Regions from separate parts of the Homo sapiens genome. Here all the other regions are linked to region 5. The links are contacts of gene promoters, found by promoter capture Hi-C in blood cells and fetal thymus (Javierre and others, 2016). All regions are on one chromosome and are shown on one strand. The core of a region is centred on a gene start or on the middle of the fragment in contact, and the rest is flanking DNA. Distances in the headings are between cores, read along the strand shown. Region 1 overlaps LINC01494 (long intergenic non-protein coding RNA 1494). Region 2 holds the start of LOC124907984 (a long non-coding RNA gene). Region 3 has its middle 3.4 kb from the start of LINC00608. Region 4 holds the start of CFAP65-AS1 (CFAP65 antisense RNA 1). Region 5 holds the start of PTPRN (protein tyrosine phosphatase receptor type N).

Evidence for each region. Contacts are between HindIII fragments. The CHiCAGO score rates a contact against its expected background, and 5 or more counts as called.
Region 1: a contact is called between a fragment that was not itself captured here and the fragment with the promoter of PTPRN in region 5, in 1 of 17 cell types (M2 macrophages). The highest score is 6.1, in M2 macrophages.
Region 2: a fragment that was not itself captured here is called in contact with the fragment with the promoter of PTPRN in region 5 in 2 of 17 cell types (M0 macrophages and M2 macrophages); the score reaches 6.6 in M0 macrophages.
Region 3: a fragment that was not itself captured here is called in contact with the fragment with the promoter of PTPRN in region 5 in 2 of 17 cell types (M2 macrophages and neutrophils); the score reaches 7.0 in M2 macrophages.
Region 4: the fragment with the promoter of CFAP65-AS1 here is called in contact with the fragment with the promoter of PTPRN in region 5 in 4 of 17 cell types (erythroblasts, M2 macrophages, M0 macrophages and 1 more); the score reaches 7.4 in erythroblasts.

The regions. Positions count from the first base shown.
Region 1 is chr2:218,903,178-218,905,877 of GRCh38, reverse strand. All of the region lies in intron 4 of LINC01494 (long intergenic non-protein coding RNA 1494), which reads left to right. Among named protein-coding and RNA genes, the nearest start is that of WNT10A, 24 kb to the right of the region's middle. The HindIII fragment of the contact is 1,258 bases long and covers 703-1,960 here.
Region 2 is chr2:218,924,101-218,926,800 of GRCh38, reverse strand. All of the region lies in intron 2 of LINC01494 (long intergenic non-protein coding RNA 1494), which reads left to right. LOC124907984 (a long non-coding RNA gene) reads right to left here and starts at 1,909. Exons shown (of 2, transcript XR_007088091.1): 1 at 598-1,909. The HindIII fragment of the contact is 694 bases long and covers 973-1,666 here.
Region 3 is chr2:218,971,543-218,974,242 of GRCh38, reverse strand. No RefSeq gene overlaps it. Among named protein-coding and RNA genes, the nearest start is that of LINC00608, 3.4 kb to the left of the region's middle. The HindIII fragment of the contact is 5,553 bases long and covers 1-2,700 here.
Region 4 is chr2:219,000,888-219,003,587 of GRCh38, reverse strand. It overlaps CFAP65-AS1 (CFAP65 antisense RNA 1), which reads right to left and starts at 1,373. Exons shown (of 3, transcript NR_046086.1): 1 at 1,288-1,373. CFAP65 (cilia and flagella associated protein 65) reads left to right here. Exons shown (of 35, transcript NM_194302.4): 34 at 316-453; 35 at 567-742. The coding sequence ends at 651. MIR375 (microRNA 375) reads left to right here and starts at 1,880; the gene lies at 1,880-1,943. RefSeq lists an enhancer at 1,307-1,601. The HindIII fragment of the contact is 13,795 bases long and covers 1-2,700 here.
Region 5 is chr2:219,308,058-219,310,757 of GRCh38, reverse strand. It overlaps PTPRN (protein tyrosine phosphatase receptor type N), which reads left to right and starts at 1,357. Exons shown (of 23, transcript NM_002846.4): 1 at 1,357-1,540. The coding sequence starts at 1,426. The HindIII fragment of the contact is 26,349 bases long and covers 1-2,700 here.

The sequences.
Region 1 (2,700 bases), core at 82-2,581, 400 kb after region 5:
CCAAAATTCAGTGGCTTAAAAATAACCATTTACATCCCACAGTCCTGTGGGTTGACTACAGTCAGCTGGGCAGTTCTCACGTGGGGTCTCTCAAGCAGTTCAGTTAGATGGTGGCTAAGGCTGGAGTCATCTGAAGGCTCAACTCGGCTGGATATCCAAGATGACTTTTTAAAAATTTATTTATTTATTTATTTATTTTTGAAGACACAGCCTCACTTCGTCACCCAGGCTGGACTGTAGTGGCGCAATCTCACTCACTGCAACCTCCACCTCCCAGGTTCAAGTGATTCTCATGCCTCAGCCTCCCGAGAAGCTGGGACTACAGGCATGTGCCACTATGTCTGGCTAATTTTTTGTATTTTTAGTAGAGATGGGGTTTCGCCATGTTGGCCAGGATGGTCTTGAACTCCTGGCCTCAAGTTATCCGCCTGCCTCGGCCTCCCAAAGTGCTGAGATTACAGGTGTGAACCACTGAGCCCAGCCCCAAGATGACTTTTTAAAGTCACATGTCTGGCACCTCATCTGAATTGGCTGGAACTGAAGGGGCCTGCCCAGGCATTACTCTCTCTATACAGCCTTCCCATGTGGCTTGTTTCGGGTTCCTCATAGCATGGTAGTCTCTGGGTAGACAGACCTCATACACGGTGATTGGCTTGCCCCAGAGTGAACATTCCGAGCGACTGAGGCAAAAACTGCAAAGCTTCCTATTCCCTCTCTTCAGCAGTCATGCAGCTTCGCTTCCACAGCACACTCAGTGAAAAGGAAGCATGGACTGGCCCTTTCAAGGGGAGGGGACAATACACAGGTGTGAAGCATGATTCAAGGCGGACCACCTTTGGGGCCCAGCTATTACAGGGGCTGAGGCAGGAAAGGACTGCTCAGGGAACTGCACACAGTCATGCTTCAGTGGAACATGGTGTGGAAGTGAGAAAAAACTGGAGATGATCGTTTGTGGCATATGGTGGAGGGCTTCAATGCTCAGGAACCTGCATATGGATACACACTGGAGTCTTTAGCTGCCCAGCATCTGAGCCCCCTTCATATGTTGGTGGAGCCTCCCTAATGTGAGTCTTAGTGAGAAGTCAGATACTTGCTCACCTGGCCCCTAGCAGGAAGATCACAGCCAAATCAATGCTCCCAGTCAGGACTCTAAATCTTCAACAAGTGACCCAAGGAGGAAGAGGACTGTTTATAATTCATCCCAGAGGTGGCAGCAGCAAGTGCTCAGGGTGGTGGTAGCCATGTGGGAAGCAGCCCCCAAGCCCCTTAATCAGGCTGCACTTGGGACAGGATTTAGCTAAAGTTCTAGCTGCCTAGCTTCTCTTGGCTCCTGCTTGCTTCCTGAGCCTGATTCTTGAGGCTTCCTGTCAATTCTTTGAGTTCCCTGATGTCATCCCAGTAAATTCCTCTTCTACTAAGTGAACCAGAGTCTGTTTCTGTTGTTTGCAATTAAGAACCCAAATTGGTACAAAGATCCATTGAGAGCTTTAGTCAGAGGAAATGACATGATCAGAGCACTTCGTGGGAGAGAAAAACAGAACAATAGGATAGGGATGGATTGAAGAGGAAGAAAGAGGAATGACAGAGGCTAGTTGGAAGGTCGTTGTGATGTTTGAGGTGTGTGGTGAACTAGGATATTGACCATGTGAATGAAGTGGAAGAATAAGCAGATCTTGGCCACTGATTGAATATAGAAAGGAGAAGAGAAGGTGAGAGTCCAAGTTTACACCAGTTTTGAGGTTCAGTGACTAAGAAAATGATGATGTGACAAAGAGAAACAAGCAAGTTAAGGAGAACTGGTTTGGAGGGGAAAGTCATTCATTCACTTATTCAACAAATATTAAATGCCTGGTCTATGCCAAGCACTGTGCTAGGCATTGAGAAAAGAACAGTAAACAAAACAAAGTCTCAGCCCTTAGCAAATACATACATAAGATAATGAATCTGCATTAATAAAGCTTGAGCCGGGCATGGTGGCTCACGCCTGTAATCCCAGCACTTTGGGAGGCTGAGGTAGGTGGATCACTTGGGGTCAGAAGTTCAAGACCAGCCTGGCCAACATAGTGAAACCCCATCTCTACTAAAAATACAAAAAATGAGCTGGGCGTGGTGGCAGGCCACCTGTAATCCCAGCCACTCAGGAGGCTGATGCAGGAGAATTGCTTGAACCTGGGAGGCAGAGGAGTCAGAGGTTGCTGTGAGCTGAGATGGCGCCATTGCACTCCAGCCTGGGTGACAGAGCAGGACTCTGTCTCAAAAATAAAATAAAATAAAATAAAGCTTGAGTGGGTGGTATCACAGGCATACATTAAAACATGTCTAGCTGGCAGCTGGAACTTCAAGAAAGATCACAGGAGACCAGGTGTGGTGGCTCACACCTGTAATCCCAGCACTTTGGGAGGCCAAGATGGGTGGATCACCTGAGGTCAGGAATTCAAGACCTGCCTGGCCAACATGGCGAAACCCTGTCTCTACTAAAATACAAAAATTAGCCCGGCATGGTGGTGCACACCTGTAATACCAGCTACTCAGGAGGCTAAGGCAGGAGAATTGCTTGAACCCAGGAGGCAGAGGTTGCAGTAAGCTGAAATCACACCACTGCATTCCAGCTTGGGTGACAGAGCGAGACTCTGTCTCAAAAGAAAAAAAAAGAAAGATCATAGGAAGGAAGTTTGGGCCTGAAGACAGAAGTTAGTAGTG
Region 2 (2,700 bases), core at 70-2,569, 380 kb after region 5:
AAATTCCTAGAAGTGAACTTGCTGGGTCACAAGCTATATGCCTTTGTAATTCTGGCAGATGTTGCCAATCTGCCTTCCACAGGGGTTGTACCAATATACTCCCCTCCCCAAATGTGTACAGGAGCACTTCAAGTCTTTTTGACACCTTAACTTAAACATAGGCTAGAAAAAATATGGCAGGTGTCTGGGTGATTTCTGCATAGAGAAACAAAGATGGGTTGTTTATCAACTCAGTCTTTTTAGCTGGCACCAACACAAGCCTCAGTGCTTTTTCAATAAATTAGTAATCTCTGTGGACTCCCCTGCCCTCACAATTGTCAGGGTACTAGGCTGTCCATGCACAGTCCACATTTCAGAACTTAGTATCTGCAATTAGATCATTCTGTCCACAAACTACTCCTCTCTAGAGGTCTTTTCTCCCCATCTCCACCTGGCAATCTCCTAGTCCTCCCTCAGGCCCAGTTGAGATGCCCCCTTCCTCCATTAAACATTATCTGACACCCCTAGGCAGAATTAGCCACTCTTCTTTGCTCCCGTGGAATTTTGTTCACACCTCAATCATGGCACGAATCACTTGTAATGTAATTATCCACTTACCTGTTCATCTCCCACATTGCATGCCTTAAGGATAGAAACTTCATCTTCATCTCTGGGCCAGCGCTTCTACACATGGTACCTGGCACATAAACACTTCACAGTAAAGCTTGCTGAAATGAAATCAGGCAGGGGCGCAGTTTTGTGGTGCCTGGTGGCAAAATCAAACAGTATTTATTTTTTCCCTTTTCTGGTAGTATCAATGAAAAGGTAAAAAATATGGCACTTCTGAGTATTTCTTTCTATCTTTTTGTGTTCCTGGACTTCTCCTTCTCCTGGAATCTGTCCTGTTCTCAGTGCCTAGAACAATGCCTGGGAAACAACAGGCATTTCATAAATAAATGTTGGATGAATGGGTATCTTTGATCAGAGGAAGCTTCCAAAATGCAGCTGATTTTTTTTTTTTTTTTTTTTTTTTTTTGCCTGCTTGATGTGCCCAAAGGGTATTTCCAAGTCTTTCCAAACCCTCAAGCATGGACCCTCATTTGCCAGTTCTGTGTATTTGGGTTTTATTTCACCTCGAGTTAATGCATGTAAAAGTGCTTAGAACAATGCCAGCCACTTAGTAAGCATTCAATAAGTGCTGACTATTATTTTTTATTATTATTCCCACTAGCCCAAACATGCTCCCATCAGTCCACCCCTTGTGCTGGGCTCTTCATTTCTCTCCCCACCAGTTAATGCGGCCTCAATCCCTGGAAAACATCCATGTAAGCACTCATGTTTCAATTTACCAACTGTGTGACCTTGAGCCAGTTACTTAATCTCTTGGAGGCTCAGTTTCTTCATTTGAAAAATAGGCATTATCTTAATATCTACCTCTAGATAGACATTAGATAGACATTGTTATGAGGATTAAAGAGCCAATCCATAGACACTGCTTACCATCATGCAGGGCTCAGAGTCGGCATTTAGCCAGCATCATGATCATGATCATGATCATCATCATCATCATCACTGCAGATGCCAAACACCTTCCATCTCTTCTTTCTGGGAGGCTCATTCCCACAGCTCTTCTGGCTGATGGTAAACCTTTAACTGGTTCTGAAGTTTGGGGCATCACCAAGAAGCTTGTGTTGACCATGTGATATGGTTTGGCTCTGCATCCCCACCCAAATCTCATCTTGAATTTTAATCCCCACATGTCAGGGGAGGGGTCTGGTGAGAGGTGATTGAATCATGGGCATGGACTTCCCCATTGCTGTTCTTGACTGTGAGTGAATTCTCATGCGATCTGGTTGTTTGAAAGTGTGTGGCACTTCCCCTTCACTCTTTCTCTCTCCTGCTCTGCCATGGTAAGACACGCTTGCTTCCCCTTTAAGTTCTGCCATGATTGTAAGTTTCCTGAGGCTTTCCAGCCATGCTTCCTGTTAAGCCTGCAGAACTGTGAGTGAATTAAACCTCTTTTCTTCACAAATTACTCAGTCTCAGGCAGCTCTTTATAGCAGTGTGAAAATGGACTATACAGAAAATTATTTATAACAGCTATAAAGATATCTGAAAATGTGGAAGCAACTTTGGAACTGGGTAACAGGCAGAGGTTGGAACAGTTCGGAAAGCTCAGAAGAAGACAGGAAGACGTGGGAAAGTTTGGAACTTCATGAAGATTTGTTGAATTGTTTTGATGAGAATGCTGATAGTGATATGGACAATGAAGTCCAGACTCAAGTGGTCTCAGATGGAGATGAGGAACTTATTGAGAACTAGAGTAAAGGTCACTCTTGCTATGCTTTAGCAAAGATACTGGTAGCATTTTTTCCCCTGCCCTAGAGATCTGTGGAACTTTGAACTTGAGAGAGATGATTTAGGGTATCTGCTGGAAGAAATTTCTAAGCAGCAAAGCATTCAGGAGGTAAACTGGCTGTTTCTAAAAGTGTATGCTCATATGCATGAACAAAGAGATGATCTGAAACTGGAACTTACATTTAAAAGGGAAGTACAGCATATAAGTTTAGAAAATTTGCAGCCTGGCCATGTGGTAGAAAAGAAAAATCCATTTTCTGGGGAGAAATTCAAGCCTGCTGCAGAAGTTTGCATAAGTAAAGAAGAGTTAAATAGCCAAGACAATGGGGAAAATGTCTCCTGGGCATTTCAGAGACCACTGAG
Region 3 (2,700 bases), core at 123-2,622, 340 kb after region 5:
GAATTTCAAATTGTAAGATCTCAGCTAGCTACTAGCTATGTGACTTTAGGAATATGTCTACACCATTCTGACACTTAGTTTTCTCCTCTAAAATGTAGATAATAGTAATGCTTACTTCCCATGATTCTATGTAGACTATTACATGAAATTTGGAAGTGGGAAGTTTTCTTGTTACAGCAACTAACATTACCATAACTGATACCCATATTATATTTGATCTTTACAATAATACCCTGAAGTACACATTATTATTTTCTTCACTTTATAGATTAGAAAACTGAGCCACAGAGGGATTAAGAAACTCGTCTAAAGTCACACAGTGAGAAAGGGCAGTGCAGGATGCGGACCTAGTTTGATTTCAGTGGCAGTGAATTCTCTTAACCACTAAGGATGTGAAAGAGGTTTATATGCTCAAGCCTCCTAGAAGTAATAATAATAAGGGCTGATACTTATTGAACCTTTATGTGCCAGGCACTATTCAAAGAGCTTTACATTCATTTAATTCTTACAACCCTCTGGAGTTGGCTCTAGTGTTATTCCCATTCTATAAATTAGGAAAACTGAGGCACAAAATGTTAAATAACTTGCATGGGATCGCAGAGCTGCCAAGTGGTAGAGATGCATTTCAAGCCCGGCCAGCCCAGTTTTCACTCTATCCCCACCCCTTATTCTCTGATCTTCACTACTGGAAGAATGAGCAGATTCTGAGATTCTGAGAGGCCAAGGAAGTAGCAGAACTATATGCCCAAACCCCAGCTCAACCTCAAGCCAGGTGCTCTATTCCAGCATTCACCAGGGGTTCCAGACAAATAGCAAAGTGAGAAATGCATTTTAGAAGTCTTGTGGTCTACAGTGACCCTTGCAAATATCTCGAACAGCATGGTGGAGTAGAAGGAACCCAGAAGGGCGTGGCTTCAGACTCATCCACTGCCTATTCCCTGTGAGACTGAGAAGGCTGCTTACTCTCTGTGAGGCTCAGTGACCTCATAAAATGGCAACACTGATCATACCTGCCTTGTTGGTTTGCTGCAAGGACAGAGCCTGTGCCTAGAGAGTCCAGCACAGAAAGCTGCTCTATAACTGTCATCCCCCACACTGATCAGCCCAGAAGCAAAGACCCGCCTTGCAAGTTCATCCCATTTCCCACCAGTCTAATCCTCCAATTCTACACCCAGTTCTCCCTCCATGAGGCAGAGATGCTCTTTCCTTGAGATTCCTTCCTTCCTTGAGGTCAGAGAAGAAGGAAGTAACTAAAGGAGGCTGGAAGGCCAGACCTTGAGCATTAGGTTCCTTTTTTGGAAGAGGAGGTCAAGTTGCTTAGCAACACAGCAGGAGGTTGTCAGGGAGGCTTCAGGCAGCACTGTCCGTTTTTATCCTGCAGTATGGAGAGATCTGGAGCAACACAAGATAGGGAGATGGATGGGAAAAGTGACAAAAGATCCCAGGCTCCGATGATAACCTCTTGGAGTCAGCCTCCTTTCCTATGATCACCTTCCCAATCCCCCAACCTTTCCCCCTGGTTTTCTACTTTTGACACACAGTTCTAGGGCATCTTGCACACACATTTGTGCAATGGCCATGTCTATGACCATGAACATGAGGGCCAGACTCAGGACCACCTTGTATTTATTATATGCTTTACAACTTACAGATCACATCATAGACACAATTTCAAATGATACTTGCAGCAGCCTCATTAATCATGGGAAAAGGCAAGGCATATGGCTCATGCCTATAATCCCAGCACTTTGGGGGACCAAGGTGGGCAGATAACCTGAGGTCAGAAGTTCGAGACTAGCCTGGCCAACATGGCGAAACCCTGTCTCTACTAAAAATACAAAAATTAGCTGGGCATGGTGGCGGGTGCCTGTAATTCCAGTTACTTGGGAGGCTGAGGCAGGGGAATCGCTTGAACCCGGGAGGCGGAGGTTGCAGTGAGCCCAGATCATGCCACTGCACTCCAGCCTGAATAACAGAGCAAGACTCCATCTCAAAAAATATATATAATATATATTCTTATATATTATACATTATTATATATAACATATTAATATTATACATTATTGTATATAACATATTAACATTATACATTATTGTATATAACATATTAACATTATACATTATTGTATATAACATATTAACATACATTATTGTATATAACATATTAACATCATACATTATTGTATATAACATATTAACGTCATACATTATTGTATATAACATTAACGTCATACATTATTGTATATAACATATTACCGTCATACATTATTGTATATAACATATTAACGTCATACATTATTGTATATAACATATTAACGTCATACATTATTGTATATAACATATTAACGTCATACATTATTGTATATAACATATTAACGTCATACATTATTGTATATAACATATTAACGTCATACATTATTGTATATAACATATTAACGTCATACATTATTGTATATAACATATTAACGTCATACATTATTGTATATAACATATTAACGTCATACATTATTGTATATAACATATTAACGTCATACATTATTGTATATAATAATATATATCAATATTCTATATATAATATATCAATATTCTATATATAATATATCAATATTCTATATATAATATATCAATATTCTATATATAAAATATATCAATATTATATATATATATATATATGTAGTGGGAAGATGATCATGATTCCTA
Region 4 (2,700 bases), core at 124-2,623, 310 kb after region 5:
GGCCCCACCCAGTCCCTTCTGCGCCCTCTCATCACTTCCCTACCTTTCTCTAAACTTGGCCCTGAGATGCCTACTACATCGCCTGGGTTTGAATCCCACCCCTTAAACCAGCAGCATATTTGGCAACTTGGAATCTTTTAGCCACACTTGGAACGTCCGTAACATTGAAACAAGAATGCCCCATAGTGTAGTGGATGAGGGGAGTCGAATGGGAATCTCCGTAGAGCTCGCGGCACAATGTACCGCACGGACAGGCGAGCGAGGAGGCGCGCGGGCACTGCGGCCGCCCTCATGCTAGCCCCCGCCCCCTCGCAGGCTCCCGGCCTTCGCCAACCTGCAGGAGGCGCTGCTGGAGAACATGATCCAGAACATCCTGGTGGAGGCGAGCCGCGGGGAGGTGGTACTCACCTCGCGGCCACGCGTCATCGCCCTGCCGCCGTTCTGCGTGCCCAGGTAAGGGCGCCGGGACCAGCGGCCGCGCAGACCGCGCGAGAGGGGCCACGGGGGCAGCCAGGCTCTGCCCGAAGCCTCGCCCCCACGCCTACCTGGGACTTTTTGTCTTCCAGGAGTCTGACCCCGGACACGCTGCTGCCGACGCAGCAAGCAGAGGTACTCCACCCGGTGGTGCCACTTCCTACCGACCTTCCGTAAATGCCCGCGCCCAGCCTCTCCGACATGCCGCTAGGGGTCACGCCTGGCCCCCTCTCCACCGCCAGTAAAAGCATCTAGTCTTTTTTCTGTATCTACCTTGACTTTATTTCCCCGACGAGGGGGAACGCGCGCGCGAGCTCTGAGAGGGAAGGATGGCAGGGAGCAGCCCGGGCGGACTGCAGAGGCGCGGCGGGAACTTAGGGCCCGGGAGGATGCACCTCTCCGCCCACACTGCAGCTGGACTGAGACCTGGCCGCTAGCTGCCGGCCGCTGGACCGGGTCTGGCCAGTGGAGGGCGCTCCGGACGGGGCCTGGCTGGCCTTTGCCCCAGCGCACCTTGGTGCACAGTAACTGAGTGCCAGGCCTGGCCAGCGAAGCAGGTGTCCACTGGGCAGGGCGGCCACCCCTCACCTTTCCGCGCCGCGCCTGCTCGGAGGCTTAGCACCCCCAGGGCCAGCCCCTTAGCATTTGCCGAGCTCCGAGTGCCCAAGAGGCTGGGGAGGAAGAACTGAGGCACGCCGCGGAGGGCCAGGAACTAGGCTGGGGCGGGTCGAGGTCACCACTGGATTTCGGGCCACAGACCCTGCTAAGCGACTCCCACTGTGAATCAGTCCTCAGACGAGGATGGATACCCACCTCTCGGTTCCTCCTAACCCCCGCCCGGGAGCTTCTGTCCTCTGCTTCTCGGCTCCTCCCTCCCAGAGGCAGGTGGGTGGAAAAGTGACATCTGGTGTTGTTCCAGAGGCGCCCAGGGTCCCCAGCACCCTCCCCTCCGCCCCCGCCACCAAGGCCTCGGAGAAGCTCCGGTCTCAGAGCCCGGGCGGGGGAGGGGGGAGCGCTCCGCCTCCATGAGTCAATATTTGCCCCGAGCAAACGGGCGCCTGGACAGGTGTGAGTGTGTGTGTCTGGGGGCGGGGACTGAACAGGCAGTATAAGAGCACACGGAGCCCGGGCTCCGGGACAAGCTCCAAGGCGTGGGCTGGGGACGAAGCCAAGCTAGGCTGGGCCGGGCGGAGGGGCCAGGAAAGCCGGGCGGAGGGTGGCTGGGAAAGGAGGGGCGGGCCAGGTGCGCACCTGCGGTGGCCGCCGCGGCCGCCGACGTGTCAGCCGCAGATGCGTTCAGGTGAGGGCGGAGGCTAGCGGGGCGCTGTGCAGCACTGAGCTCGCGGAAGACCAGGACCAGGAGATCACCGAGGGCGACCGCCAGGCCCCGGGCCCTCCGCTCCCGCCCCGCGACGAGCCCCTCGCACAAACCGGACCTGAGCGTTTTGTTCGTTCGGCTCGCGTGAGGCAGGGGCGGCCTCTCAGCACCAGCCCGGGGGCCGGCCTGATCGCCACGCAGGCACCTGCCGCCGCCACCGCCACCGCCATCTCAACCGTACGGGTGGGAGAGGCTGTGCGCCGCTCCAGGGGAGATCCGGCTCCCATCCGGCCCCACCCGCCCTGCCTTGCCCTGCCCGCAGCTTCTGGGCTGCCAGGCTCCATTCTGCGTCGTAATACGGGCTGAGCCGGCTCCAGCGGGTGGCGAAGGGGGCCGTGGCCCAGAACAGAAACCCTTCTGGAGGTGGAAACCCGGATTCTAGTCCGCCTCTGTCCCCGCGACTTCTATGGCCTTGGGCAAGTCATTTCCCGGCCTCTTGGTTTTCCCATTTGCTCAGTGAACGGTTGGTCTGGCCTCCCGCAGGGGCTAGGCCCTCCCCAGCCTCCTGTCCCGGTTCCTGGGCTCCTGGTCATGCTGGGGAAGATGCAGGCCCTCACGGAGTTGGAGCCAAGGCTGAGGTGTGGAAAATCTGGGCGGGGGAAGCTGAGGGCCACCATGGAGCCTCAAATCCACTCCTCGGATCTCTGTGGTGCTGCTGACATCCTGAGATGTCACTCCCTGACACTCCCTTGGTCCCTCTTTCAGTCTAAAAACGTCTGAGACAGTCAGACTGACTGAAAAGGACAAGCCCCCAGGCACAGCGGTTCACCACCTTCCTCAAACCTCAGAATCCCACATCCTCGCTTCCATCAGCTGGGGTGGGGTAGGTAGGTGGCCCTCAGCTCAGG
Region 5 (2,700 bases), core at 108-2,607:
CATTCATGTTTAAATACTAAAAAGAAGCAAATATTGTAAAACATCAATAACCATTAAGTATGGATGATGAGTATGTAAGTATTCATTATGCATTTCTGTCCTTTTTAAATTTTATTTTATTTTACTGGAAAGCAAGAGAGGAAGGAGATCAAATCTGAACTTAAGAAGCTCACTCCCCTACTTATTGGATGACTAGAGTGGAAGCAAAAGAGCAGTTACTAGCTGATTGCTGCAGTGGTCGTGGTGAAAGAGCACAGTGTTTCAGTTCAGGTAGTGAGGATGGACAGAAGTGGACTGATGGGAGATGTATTTTGCAGGGAGAAACCATAAAATGATTGATAGCCTCGAGGTGGCACAGACGGAGAGAAAGGAGAGTCAAAGCTAATGATGAGGCCAGGCCCGGTAGCTCACACCTGTAATCCCAGCATTTTGGGAGGCGAAGGCCGTTGGATCACCTGAGGTCAAGAGTTCAAGACCATCCTGGCCAACAAGGTGAAATCCCATCTCCAATAAAAATGCAAAAATTAGCCGGGCAAGGTGCTGTGCGCCTGTAATTCCAGCTACTAGGGAGGCTGAGGCAGGAGAATGGCTTGAACCCAGAAGGTGGACATTGCAGTGAGCCAAGATCACGCCAGTATCCAGCCTGGCCAACAGAGCAAGACTCCATCTCAATAAAAAATAAATAAAAGCTAATGATGACAGCTAATATGTATGGAGCATGTAGTATGCACCAGTCCAGTCATCCTTCTAAGTGATCCATATTAGTGTAACGAACAAAATCTTCACAATCACTGTGTGAGGCGGGTAGTAACTATTAACACCTCCACTTTGCAGATCAGGAAACTTGGACGCAGACAAGTTAAACAAGGTGCCCAAGGTCATACCCTTAGTAGATGCCCTGCTAGAACTGGAATCTAGGCATGCCTAACCATTTTTTCTTAAGGAAGAGAACAGTATCTTCAATGACAATGAGTAAGAGTACTTATTCTACCCACTTTTCTGCTTCTTGTCTTCGGGTTTATCGTTCTGGACCCACCTATCTTTCCTGGCCCCCCACTTAACTTAACCCTTTTCACCCACCCTGGGGCGGGGAGACAGAGGTGATCCTAGAAGAGGGCTACAGGGATGGGGCCAAGTGGGAATTCTAGCGAGGCGCCTACTATTTGATGGAGGAGGGATGGGCTAGGTAGGTCCCCCGCTCCGACAGGGCTCTTACGCCATATGTGACGCAAATTAGCTTACGAGCCGGGGGTGGAGGTGTCGTCAGCACCCGCCTGCGGTTGGCCGCGTTGCAGCGAGAGGGGCATGTAGACCCCGCCTCGTAGGGAGGTGGGGAGCGGCAAGCCCCGCCTCAGCCCCTCTGGCAGGCTCCCGCCAGCGTCGCTGCGGCTCCGGCCCGGGAGCGAGCGCCCGGAGCTCGGAAAGATGCGGCGCCCGCGGCGGCCTGGGGGTCTCGGGGGATCCGGGGGTCTCCGGCTGCTCCTCTGCCTCCTGCTGCTGAGCAGCCGCCCGGGGGGCTGCAGCGCCGTTAGTGCCCACGGTCAGGAGGAAACTTGGGCTGGCGGGTGGTGGGGGGCGGGGAGCAGCTTGGGGCCTGGAGCGAAACTCGGTGGGGGTGAGGGTGAAATGTCATGAAGCTCGGGGAGAATATGGGTTGGGGGAGGCATGCGAGATGAGGAAGGTGAGAGGGCGTCTCGGAGGAAAGGGGCGTAGGCCTGGAGGTGGGGCTGGGAATACGGGGGCGGGACCTAAGAGAATTGGGCTCTGGGGAAAATTGCAGGTTCGGGAGAAGGACACGGGGTGCATGTGGGCAGAGGGACTTAGAGACCGGCTGCGAGACCACAGGAGAAGCCACTTGCTCCGAGGCGCCTGGGAGGTGGTGACAGGCGCTGAGGAATGGGAAGGGGAGGTGGCGGGGAGAATGAGGGAACGGTGATCTCTGGGCAGTGGAAGCCTGGGCCGCAGACATAGAGTCCCAGCTGGGCAGAGAGAGAGGCCAGGGTTTCTCCGTAAGCCTAGAGAAGCTGATTGCAGCGATCTGATCTCCTGTAACGGGGGACAGCACGGGGAGGGGGCAGAAGAGGATGAAGAGGGGAGGGTCCTCTCTTGTCCCCCTCCCCACAGCCAGGCCTGGTGCTGACTCACATCTGTGCGGACAGAGACAGTCAGCGCTGACTCACGGACAGGGGGTGGGGGATGGGAGGGTGGCGCGTGGGGGAAGGGGCGCAGCCTCGCCGCCTGGCGCCCTCTTTCCCCACCCGGGCTTGGAGGCCCGAGAGGCAGAGTACTTCCTGTGACGCTGTGGGTTGGCAGAATACAACAGAGGGCTCAGGTCTAGTGGAGAGTCCTCGCTCTGTGACCCCTTCCTCTCTGGTAACCGCCTCCAAGGCCAGCCCTTGGCGGCGCCAGACTCAGAGCTTCAGCACCGCGGACAGCGCCAGCGGCTCGGGACAGCGCGAGGAGAGATGCCTAAGAGACACCCTCCCCAGCCCCACCCATGCCCTCTTTCCCCCGACCGGGGGAAGTGTGCTAGAACCTCTTCTGAGTTCCAGGCCATTATAGGATGCTTTTCCATATTTGGGAAGGAAATTCCTCTTTCAGAATTTGGCCAAAACCTCTCCTGCAGTAATTCTATGAATCTCTCTCCCTGCACCTGGAAGGTTTCTTCCCTATCACTCAGTTAAGCAAACAGAGGCTTTT